Regions from separate parts of the Homo sapiens genome. Here all the other regions are linked to region 1. Evidence: promoter capture Hi-C in human tissues and cell types (Jung and others, 2019). All regions are on one chromosome and are shown on one strand. The core of a region is centred on a gene start or on the middle of the fragment in contact, and the rest is flanking DNA. Distances in the headings are between cores, read along the strand shown.

Evidence for each region. Contacts are between HindIII fragments. The study calls those that stand out against the background at their distance.
Region 2: a contact is called between the fragment with the promoter of ZNF66 here and a fragment that was not itself captured in region 1, in 3 of the 25 tissues and cell types used here (aorta, spleen and thymus).
Region 3: the fragment with the promoter of ZNF626 here is called in contact with a fragment that was not itself captured in region 1 in 2 of the 25 tissues and cell types used here (H1 embryonic stem cells and mesenchymal stem cells).

Annotation. Positions count from the first base shown.
Region 1 is chr19:21,383,743-21,387,655 of GRCh38, reverse strand. ZNF738 (zinc finger protein 738) reads right to left here. Exons shown (of 5, transcript NM_001355237.2): 5 at 1-3,913. Among named protein-coding and RNA genes, the nearest start is that of ZNF493, 11 kb to the left of the region's middle. The HindIII fragment of the contact is 5,408 bases long and covers 1-3,913 here.
Region 2 is chr19:20,774,853-20,778,584 of GRCh38, reverse strand. It overlaps ZNF66 (zinc finger protein 66), which reads right to left and starts at 2,281. Exons shown (of 4, transcript NM_001355197.2): 1 at 2,135-2,281. The coding sequence starts at 2,137. The HindIII fragment of the contact is 10,177 bases long and covers 1-3,732 here.
Region 3 is chr19:20,659,411-20,663,609 of GRCh38, reverse strand. ZNF626 (zinc finger protein 626) reads left to right here and starts at 2,039. Exons shown (of 4, transcript NM_001076675.3): 1 at 2,039-2,166. The coding sequence starts at 2,164. RefSeq lists a silencer at 1,845-1,914. The HindIII fragment of the contact is 1,409 bases long and covers 1,634-3,042 here.

The DNA.
Region 1 (3,913 bases), core at 144-2,643:
TGTTAAGATGTAAGCAGATATTAATGTCTTTTTCACAGTCTGTATTTGTATAATTTTTCTCAAACATAAATGCTTTTCTGTGCAATAAGGTGGTTAAGTTTTGCCACATTGCTCTCACTTGTAGGATTTCTTTCCAGTATGAATTATATTGAATGTAATCAAGTAAGGCAGGGAGTGGTGGCTCATGCCTGTAATCCCAGCACTTTGGGAGGCCCGAGGTGGGCGGATCACCTGAGGTCAGGAGTTTGAGACCAGCCTGGCCAAGATGGTCATACCCCATCTCTACTAAAAGTACAAAAATTAGCCAGGCGTGGTGGCAGGTGCCTGTAATCCCAGCTACTTGGGAGGCTGAGGTAGGAGAATCACTTGAACCTGGGAGGCGGAGTTTGCAGTGAGCCGACATCATGCCATTGCACACCAGCCTGGGGGACAAGAGTGAGACTTCATCTCAAAAAAAGAAAAAAGTCAAGTATGACAACCATTTAAAGACTTTGTCACATTCTTCACATTTCTAGGATTTCTCACCAATATGATTCTTTTTATGGTTAGAAAAGCTTGAGGTGTTGTCAAAAGCATTATTGCATCTTTCTGGTTTGTGGAGTTTCTTTCCAGTATGAATTATCTTATGTGTGTTAAGATCTGAGGACTAGTGGCTGAGCGTGGTGGCTCATGCCTGTAATCCCAGCACTTTGGGAGGCTGAGGTGGGCAGATTACAAGGTCAGGAGTTCAAGACCAGCCTGATCTACATGGAGAAACCCCATCTCTGCTAAACATACAAAATTAGATGGGTATAGTGGTGCATGCCTGTAATCCCAGCTACTCGGGAGGCTGAGGCAGAATTGCTTAAACCTGGGAGACGGAGGTTGCAGTGAGCTGAAATCATGCCACAGTATTGCAGCCTTGGCAACAAGAGTGAAACTCCATCTCTAAAAATAATAATAATAACTGAGAACTAGTTAAAGCTTTTGCCATATTTTTCACACTCATAAGGTTAATCTCCAATATGAATTTTCTTATGTTTGGTAAGAATTGAGGACTGGTTAAAGGCTTTGTCACATTCCTCACATTTGTAGTGTTTCTCTCCTGTATGAATTATTTTGTTCAAAAAGGTTTGTAGGACTGGTTAAAAGCTTTGCCACATTCTTCACAGTTGTGAGGTTTCTCTCCAGTATGAATTATGTTATGTTTAGTGGGAGTTGAGGACTGGATAACGGCTTTACCACATCCTTCACATTTCTAAGATTTTTCTCCAGTATGAGTTATCTTATGTTTAGTAAGGTTTGAGGATTGATTAAAAGCTTTGCCACATGGGTGGGATTTCCCTCCAGCATTAATTATCTTATGTGTAGTAAGGGTTGAGGATTAGTTAAAAGGTTTGCTACATTTTTCACATTTGTAAGGCTTCTCCACAGTATAAATTATCTTATGTGCAGAAAGTTGAGGGGACCATTAAAGGCTTTGCCACATTCCTCACGTTTGTAGGTTTTCTCTCCAGTACAAATTATCTTGTTTAGTAATGGATGAGGATTTCTTAAAAGCTTTGCCACATTCTTCACATTTGTATAATTTCTCTCCTGTAAGATTTTATGTTTAATAAGGTATGAGAATCTATAAAAAGTTTTGAGATATTCTTCATATTTGTAGGGTTTCTCTCCAGCACGAATTACCTTATGTGTCATCAGGGTTGAGAAGTGGTTAAAAGCTTTGTGACATTCTTCATATTTGTAGGATTTCTCTCTGCTATGAATTCTGTTTAGTAAGTGTTGAGGACAAATTAAAGCCTTTGCCACATTCTTCACATTTGTAGAATTTCTCTCCAGAATGAATCACCTTATTTTTAGTAAAGTATGAGAATCAATAAAAACCTTTGCCACATTCTTCACATTTGTAGGGTATCTCTCCAGCATGAATTACCTTATGTGTAGTAAGGGTTGAGTACCGGTTAAAAGCTTTGCCACATTCTTGACATTTGTAGAGTTTCTCTCCAGTATGAATTATCTTATGTGCAGTAAGGCATGAGTACCAGTTAAAAGCTTTCTCACATTCTTTACATTTGTAGGGTTTCCTTCCAGTATGATTTCTCTTATGTGCAGTAAGGTGTGAGGACTGGTTAAGAGCTTTCTCACATTCTTCACATTTGCAGGGTTTCTCTCTAGTATGAACTCTCTTATTTTTTTTATTTATTTATTTATTTTTTTGGAGATAGAGTCTCTCTCTGTCATCCAGGCTGGAGTGCAGTGGAGCCATCTCAGCTCACTGCAACCTCCACCTCCTGGGTTCAAGCGATTCTCCCACCTAGGCCTCCAGAGTAGCTGGGACTACAGGTGTGCACCACTACACCTGGCTAATTTTTTATATTTTTAGTAGAGATGGGGTTTCACCATATGGGCCAGGCTGGTCTTGAACTCTTGACCAGGTGATCTGCCTGCCTCAGCCTCCCAAAGTGCTGGGATTACAGGCATGAGCCACCGCACCCAGTCAAACTCTTTTATCTTTAGTAAGGGTAGAGGACCATTGACCAGGTGATCTGCCTGCCTCAGCCTCCCAAAGTGCTGGGATTACAGGCATGAGCCACCGCACCCAGTCAAACTCTTTTATCTTTAGTAAGGGTAGAGGACCAGTCAAAGCCTTTGCCACATTCTTCACATTTGTAGAAATTCTCTTCCGCATGAATTCTCCTATGTGTAGTAAAGTATGAGTACTGGTTATAAGGTTTGCCACATTTTTTACATTTGTAGTGTTATTCTCCAATATGAATTATCTTATGTATAGTAAGGGTTGAAGATTGGTTAAAAGCTTTGCCACATTCTTCACATTTGTAGGGTGTCTCTCCAGTATGAATTTTCTTATGTTTAGTAAGGTTTGAGGACCAGTTATAAGCTTTGCCACATTCTTCACATTTGTAGGGTTTCTCTCCAGTATGAACTCTCTTATGTCTAGTAAGAGTTGAGGACTGGTTAAAAGCTTTTCCACATTCTTCACATTTGTAGGGTTTCTCTCCAGTATGAGTTATCTTATGATTAGTAAGGTTTGAGGATTTTTAAAAAGCTTTGCCACATTCTTCACATTTGTAGGGTTTCTCTCCAGTATGAATTATCTTATGTCTAGTAATTTGTGAGGAACAGTTAAAAGCTTTGCCACTTTCTTCATGTTTGTAGGGTCTCTCTCCAGTATGAATCATCTTATGTGTAGTAAGGTATGAGAATTGGTAGAAATCTTTGCCACATTCTAAACATTTGTAGGGTTTCTCTCCATTATGAATTCTCTTATGTTTAGTAAGGGTTGAGAATACATTAAAGGCTTTGCCACATTCTTCACACTTGTAGGGTCTCTCTCCAGTATGAATTATCTTATGTTTAGTAAGGGTTGAGAATACACTAAAGGCTTTGCCACATTCTTCACATTTGTAGGGTTTCTCACCAGTATGAATTCTCTTATGTGTAGTAAGGCGTGAGTACCAGTTAAAAGCTTTGCCACATTCCTCACATTTGTAGCGTTTCTCTACAGTATGAATCATCTTATGTGTAGTAAGATAAGATAATCGGTAGAAAGCTTTGCCACATTCTTCACATTTGTAGGGTTTCTCTCCAGTGTGAATTCTCTTATGTGTAGTAAGGTAAATGAATCGGTAGAAAGCTTTGCCACATTCTTCACATTTGTAGGGTTTCTCTCCAGTATGAATCAACTTATGTGCAGTAAGGTAGGAGTAACAGTTAAAAGCTTTGCCACATTCTTCACATTTGTAGGGTTTCTCTCCAGTATGAATTATCTTATGTGTAGTAAGGTATGAGAATCTGAAGAAAGCTTTGCCACATTCTCCACATTTGTAGGGTTTCTCTCCAGAATGAATTTTCATGAGTAGTAAGGTTTGAGGACTGTTTAAAAGCTTTGCCACATTCCTCACATTTGTAG
Region 2 (3,732 bases), core at 1,032-3,531, 610 kb after region 1:
CTCAAATTCCTGACCTCAAGTAATCAACCTGTCTAGGCCTCCCAAAGTGCTGAAACTACAGGCATGAGCCACTGCACCTGGCTAAGATGCTTGCATTTTATACCCCTATAAGAAAAGCATATATATCTACTTCTTTCAGACAATGTATGTATTATTTTATTATTTATCTTAAAAATAATGCAGTAGGCCGGGCACTGTGGCTCACGCCTCTAATCCCAACACTTTGGAAGGCCAAGGTGGGTAGATCACGAGGTCAGAAGATTGAGAACATTTTGGCCAACATGGTGAAACCCTGTCTCTACTAAAAACACAAAAAAATTGGCTGGACGTGGTGACACACACCTGTAATCCCAGCTACTTGGGAGGCTGAGGCAGGAGAACTGCTTGAACCTGGGAGGCAGAGGTTGCGTGAGCCGAGATCACGCCACTGCACTCCAACCTGGTGACGGAGTGAGACTCTGTTTCAAAAAAATAAGTAAATAAATAAAATAATGTAGTAAAAAATTAGTCATATGGGAACACTTCTAGAAGGTACCATGTTTCATCACTTAAAATTTAGCATTTAACTCAGAAATCAAAATAAAAGGATATAGAAAAAATTTACCCTGCAAAAAGAGGAACTAATGTGTTGATGAATCCATGTAACTCCTCAATTATCTACCACATTTTCCTGTGGAAATATATTCATTGTCTACAGCCAAAATGGAAGAGAGATTTTCCCTATATTTTTCCTTGGTAACTAGCATTCCTGGCAAACATGGTGAAACCTCATCTCTACTAAAAATATGAAAACTAGCTGGGAGTGGTGGCGCTTGCCTGTAGTCCCAACTACTGGAGAGGCTGAAGCAGGAGAATCGCTTGAACCCATGAGGTGGAGGTTGCAGTGAGCCAAGATCTGACACTGCACTCTAGCCTGGCGACAGAGCAAGACTCCGTCTCAAAAAATAATAATAATAATAATAATTAATTGAGGAACATGGGGGACACTTGAGGCCCTGCTTGGGACACATGTGAAAAATGCCAGGGAAAGTCAGTCCCCTGTGGGATGTGAAAATAATTAAGTGGCAGGCAATTAGACTGAAGAGGCTCTAGTCCCCGGATTTCTATTTCTAAAAAAAAAAAAAAAAAAAAATCTAAGCTCAAGTGCATTTTTTGGCAAATTACTACATTAGGGGAAACAAAATTCAGGCTTCAGCAACTATAAACTGCCAATTAAGCTCTAATTACATAACCAGGAAATTTCCACCTTGATTGTACAAATTAAGAAACTACATTACTAAACCTAACAAATTATTGAATTTGGTTTTCCTCATCATGCATTTTATAAATGTCTTTTCTTCAAGCCTCTCCCATGGACCACAAACTACAAACTATAGCTGGGTGCTCTACAATTCTTGAATCACTCTTTGATTAAATTGTTTGATATTTTTGCAGTGACTCCCATAATTTTTTTTTTTTTTTTTTTTTTTTAGACAAGAGTCTTGCTCTGTCGCCCAGGCTGGAGTGCAGTGGCAGGATTTCAGCTCACTGCAACCTCCGCCTCCCGGGTTCAAGCGATTCTCTCACTTCTGCCTCCCGAGAAGCTGGGACTACAGACATTCGCCAACATATCCACCTAATTTTTGTATTTTTAGTAGACAAGGGGTTTCCCCATTTTGGTCAGTCTGGTCTTCAACTCCTGACCTCAAGTGATCCGCCCGCCTCGGCCTCCCAACGTGCGGGGATTACAGGCTTGAACGACCGCGCCCGGCCCCATACAATTTTAATAGCAGAAAAGAGAAACTGTGAACCCCACAGACCAAAGCTCTTCCCATTCATGAACCCGCACCGCGAGTCAGCATTCTCCCCTGAAGACCCTCCGGTGGTCCCTGCACAATCTGGGAGAGACACGGCACTGCGGGTGCAGAGCTGCCCACAGAGCGCTCCAGGCCAGGGGCACAGTCACTGCGCGGGGAAGCGACAGGACGCCCGGGGGCCAGGCTGTCAGCGTAGCCGCCATCTTATGGCTGAATGGGACTGAGGCAGAGCTGGGTAAGGAGAATTCGGGGTGCAGATTGTGGAGCTGACTGAGGGGAGGCCTGAGTCCCGCCACAGACACTTCACCTCTCTCGGGATGCTGGACCGGCACTCTCACCATTTCTAGGCTTCCAGGGGGTCCTGGCGTCTTAGCTGTGGATCTCCCAATACCTGCAGGACACAGGGCCACAGAGGCTGGGCCTCTAGGAGAAGAAGACAGAGAGCAGTGAACAGACGACCTGGAGCTCCAGCTGCAGGGAGAGACAAAGACCCCGCCAAATCCGGAAGCCGTCCTGTTCATTCCAGCTGCGTGCCTGATTGGACGGTTTCCAGCCCAGCGCCTCTGATTGGCTAATGCTTAAGGTCCCGCCCCCTCAGACACTGAGTGACAGAAGATGTGATCAGCTGCTGGGCGGAGTGAAGAAAAGAGTGACAGCCTAAGCTGCAGCCTTTTCAGGCAGGGCTTCCTCCCAGAGCTGAGCCTGGTCCATGCCAGAGCATGGGAACATTTTATCTCTTTTTTACTCTCTGTCTTGTTGAATGTATTCAAAGGTGAACAGAAGTATTTTGCTGTCATATTAATAATACATAAAATTTTTGTTCAAGAGAAAATCAGCTTTTACTTTGGTAATAGTGTATTAACGATTAAAGCTAATTTTAATAAAACCTTATAAATAAATCAAATTTGTCATTTTTGACCACTCCAGATTTACATATATATTTTGTAATCCCTGTAATTTTTTTATCTATTTATATTTTATTTTTATCCACATTCTTCTTATTTTTTCAACTTGAAACAACCTTTAAGTAATTTCAAACTGCTATAAGAGATAGAAATAATTTAGGGTCAGGCACAGGTAGCTCATGCCAGTAATCCCAACACTTTGGGAGGCCAAGGTGGGTGGATCACTTGAGGTCAGGAGTTCAAGACTAGCCTGGCCAACATGGTGAAACCCCATCTCTACTCACAATGTAAAAAATTAGCTGGGTATGGTGGTGCACATCTGTGGTCCCAGCTACTCCGGAGGCTGAGGCAGGAGAATCACTTGAACCCAGGAGGTGGAGGTTATGTAACAGCCCAAGGGGTTCATTTTGCCCTTTGCCTAGACAGAGCCAATTCATGAAGACAGGAGAATTTATGGAGGAAAAGTTAAATGTTAAATTTGAACTCAATTGAACGTGGACACAATGGTCACCAAGTCCCAGAACAGGTCCTGGTTGTGAGCCCCTGAGGTGTTCATCCAGAGCTGTATCAAAGAAATGTCTATTTCATTCTATTACTATACATTAGTTGTTGAAAAACAATAGACAATCACAAAAACAACTTGACCCTTTTGTGTTCCGTGAGGCAAGTCCCAAATGGCCCTCCTCACTGGGCCTTATGCCAAACAACTCGTTACAAAAGAGCTAGGGTCCCAGACCACCCTGAAGCTTCATGAGACTCCTTGTCTGTGCATGAATGGGTGGCCGACTCTGGAGCCTGGGCTGTTTCTTCCTACTCAGTTGGTAATCCTCCATAGTCTAGTGAGGGTAAATATATATATATATCTTTTCCCATCTCCTCTTCTTACTGCAATTTGCTTATTATATCAATCTGTGTATTATATTTATTTGCTTATTATATCATTTGCTTATTATATCATTAGTTTATTCTGTCTGCATTGATATTGATGTGGGTTAAAGCTTGTTTACCATTAAAGTTATTGTATGTATGTC
Region 3 (4,199 bases), core at 790-3,289, 720 kb after region 1:
GGCTTTTCCTCCAAGTTATCAAAATGTCTCTTCAGCAAGGGTGCAGAACTGGACAGAGGATGAGATGGATGAATTGACAAAAGTAGGCTTCAGAAGATGGGTAATAAACTCTGCTGAGCTAAAGGAACATGTTCTAAACCAATTGAAAGAAGCTAAGAACCTTGATAAAAGGTTAGAGGAACTGCTAACTAGAATAACTGGTTTAGACAGGAACATAAATGATCTGATGGAGCTAAAACACACAGCATGAGAACCTCCTGAAGCATACAAAAGTATTTGTAGCTGCATTGACCAAGCAGAAGAAAGAACATCAGAGTTTGAAGACCACCTTGCCAAAATAAGGCATGCAGACAAGATTAAACAAAAATGAATAAAAAGGAACAAATGAAGCCTTTGAGAAATATGTTCTGTGCAGGAAACACATGAGGGGAGAAGAAAAGACACGCACACAATACCTTTAAGGGTAAACAAGCTTTATCCCAGGTAAATGGCAATGCATATATAATAAGCAAATTGATATAATAAGAGCATTGCAATGGGAAGGGGAGAAGAGAAAAAATATATATCTTTACACTCACCAGACTATGGAGGATTCATCAGCAGACCAGGAAGCAACAGCCTGGGCTCCAGAGTCGGCCACCCATCCCTGTACAGACAAGGAGAGGTCTTTGGAGCTTTGGTGCAGTCTGGGATCCTAGCTCTTTTTGTAACAAGTTGTTTGGCATGAGGCCCAGTTGCAACTGGGCTCTTTGCAACTGGGCTCAAGGAACACAAAAAAGTCAACTTGTTTTTTTTGCGATTGGCTATTGTTTTTCAATAACTAACGTATAGGAATAGATTAAAATAGAGATTTCTCCAAAACAATCTGTGCCCAGTTCTCTTTGCCCAGCTTGGCCTCAGTCCCATTCAGCCAGAAGATGGCAGCTGCGCTGACAGCCAGGCCCCCAGAAGTCCTGCCTCTTCACTGCGCTGTGACTGTGCCCTGGCCTGGAGCCCACTTTGGGCAGCTCTGCACCTGCAGCATGGCGTCTCTCCCAGATTGTGCAGGGACCAGGGGAAGGTCGGCAGGTGAATGCCTCAAGGGGCTCACATAACCTGTTCCAGGACTTGGTGACCATTGTTTGTGTCCATGTTCAACTGAGTTCAAATTTAATATTTAACTTTTCCTCCACAAATTCCCCTGTCTTGATGAATCATCTCTGTCTAGGCAAGATGAAGCCCTTAGGCCGTTACACAACCTCCGCCTCCTGGGTTCAAGCGATTCCCCTGCTTCAGCCGCCGTAGCACCTGGGACTACAGGTGTGTACCACCACACCTGGCTAATTTTTTGTGTTTTTACTAGAGATGAGATTCAACATGTTGGCCAGGCTGGTCTTGAACTCCTGACCTGAAGTGATCCACCCACTTTGGCCTCCCAAAGTGCTTGGATTACAAGCGTGCACCAGCGGACTGGCCCTAAATGATTTCTTTGTCTCTTGTAACAGTTTGAAATTACTTAAAGGTTGTTTCAAATTGAAAAAATAAAAAGAATGTAGATAAAAATAAAATATAAAAAGTTAAAAAATTACATTAGATTACAAAATATGTATGTAAATCTCGAGAGGTCAAAAATGACAAATTTGATTTTTTATAAGGTTTTATCAAAATTACCTTTAGTATTGATAATACATTATTGCCAAAGTAAAAGTTGATTTTCTCTTGAACAAAAATTTTATGTATTATTAATATGAGAGCAAAATACTTCTGTTCACCTTTTGAATACATTCAAAAAGAGAGAGAGTAAAGAAAAGATAGAATTCTCCCATGCTCTGGGGTGGGCCTGGCTCAGCTCAGGAAGGAAGCCCTGCCTGAAAAGGCTGCAGCTTAGGCTGTCACTCTTTCTTCACTCAGCTCAGCGTCTGATCACATCTACTGTCACTCAGGGCCTCAGGGGGCGGGGCCTTAAGCATTATCCAATCAGGGATGGTGGGCTGGAAACCATCCAATCAGGAACGCAGCTGGAGCGAAGAGGACGGTTTCCGGGTTTGGTGCGGCCTTTGTCTCTCGCTGCAGTCAGAGCTCCAGGTCTGGTTCTTCTCCTAAAGGCCCAGGCTGTGTGGCCCCGTGTCCTGCAGGTATTGGGAGATCCACAGCTAAGACACCGGGACCTCCTGGAAGCCAAAAATGGTGAGAGTGAGGGTCCGACATCCCGAGAGAGGAGAGGGACTGGTTGGAACCGGTGAAAAGTGGCTGTGGCGGGACTCAGGCCTCCCCGCAGTCAGCTCCACAGTCTGCTCCCCCAGTTCTCCTTGCTCAGCTCGGCCTCAGTCCTGTTCAGCCATAAAATGGCAGCTGCGCTGACAGCCGGCACCCGGGCGTCTTGTCTCTTCACTGCGCGGTGACTACCCTGGCCTGGAGCCCTCTCTGGGCAGCTCTGCACCCGCAGCGTGGCGTCTCTCCCAGATTGTGCAGGGACCAGGGGAGGGTGGGCAGGGGAGAATCCTGACTCGGGGTGCGGGTTCATGAATGGGAAGAGCTTTGTTCCTTTGGGTTTACAGTTTCTCTTTTCTCCTATTAAAAATGTATGGGGCCGGACGCTGTGGCTCACGCCTGTAATCCCAACGTTTTGGGAGGCCGAGGCGGGCGGATCACTTGAGGTAAAGAGGTGTTAGGACAACTAAGTTCCTTTTAAATGACTCAACTTTCTGGTCATAAGTTGTAAAAGTTGTAAATCAACCCTACCTCTTCTTCTACCCCCTTTTCCTTTTCTCGCAAATCGCGCATTTACTTTATTTGGAAAAAGTTTGGGTCTAAGCTTACCAGGATCAGCTTAGATTGTGCGGTCTGATCCCAGCCAATAGGGGATGGAAACAAAAACAGGAACTGCATTAGGGTTCAAAACCCCTTTCTTGCTGGGCGCGGTGGCTCAAGCCTGTAATCCCAGCACTTCGGAGGCCGAGGCAGGTGGATCACGTGGTCAGGAGTTCTAGACCAGCCTGGCCAACGTGGTGAAACCCGTCTCTACTAAAAATACGAAAACTATCGGCGTGTTGGCACGTGCCTGTAGTACCAGCCACTTGGGAGGCTGAGGCACGAGAATTGCTTGAACCCGGGAGGCGGAAGTTGCAGTGAGCTGAGATCCAATCATCGCGCTCCAGCCTGCGTGACAAAGCGAGACTCCGGCTCAAAAAAAAGAAAAAAAAAGTAAGCATCTTAAAAATTCCTTTATGTAAACATTGTGAGTAATTTCACTGGAGTTTCTAACACTTAGTTTCAAAAACCAAGTGAATAACTGATGTGGACATTAAAGCTTGAACCTAGTGACTCCAAGCTAAGGCTAATATTAAGCCTGCAACAGGGTATTTTTTTTTTTTTTTTTTTTTTTTTAGACACAGTGTCGCTTGTGGTGCCCAGGCTGGAATGTAATGGCGTGATCTCGGCTTACTGGGTTCAAGCGATTCTCCTACCTCAGCCCCACCAGTAGCTGGGATTACAGGCATGCACCATCACGCCCGGCTAATTTTGGTGTTTAGTAGAGACGGGTTTTCTCCATGTTTGTCAGGCTGGTCTTGAACTCTCTGCCTCAGACCCGCTTCGGCCTCCCAAAGTGCTGGCATTATCGGTGTGAGCCACCGCACCCGGCCAACAGGAGGTTATTAAAGGCCCTGTTATTTTTTTCTGGGGAGTCTCCCTTGCGGATATCTCAAGACTGCTCACCCCAGCCACGGAAGGAGCCTTCATTCTGAAAGAAGCTACAAAGCCTTGGAAAGCTGGGGCCCCACAGGCAGATGCAGTCAAGATTAAGATGAAAGGAAACTGGGAGGGTCTTACTGGTAATGAAGTTGTTATGGTTTTGAGGCACTTTTTACGCTTTCTAAAATAAGAATATTAGATTTATGTAAAAAAAAAATGAATTCCTAAGAAGTATTGCAACAGGAAGAAGTACCAGCTAACTAAAAAATCTTCATGGGTTGCAAAAATGTAGGCAGAAAAGGGCTTTTCTCCTACATTGGAGATGGCTTATCTCCATCCCTCACTAGCCTGAGGGATGGAGATAAACTTAAGTAAAGTTTGATTAAGAAATATTTTAGGCTGAGCGCCATGGCTCAGGCATGTAATCCCAGCAGTTTGGGAGGCCTAGGCGGACGGATCACCGCAAGTCAGGAGCTTGAGACCAGCCTGGTCAACATGGTGATAACCCTGTGTCTACTAAAAATACA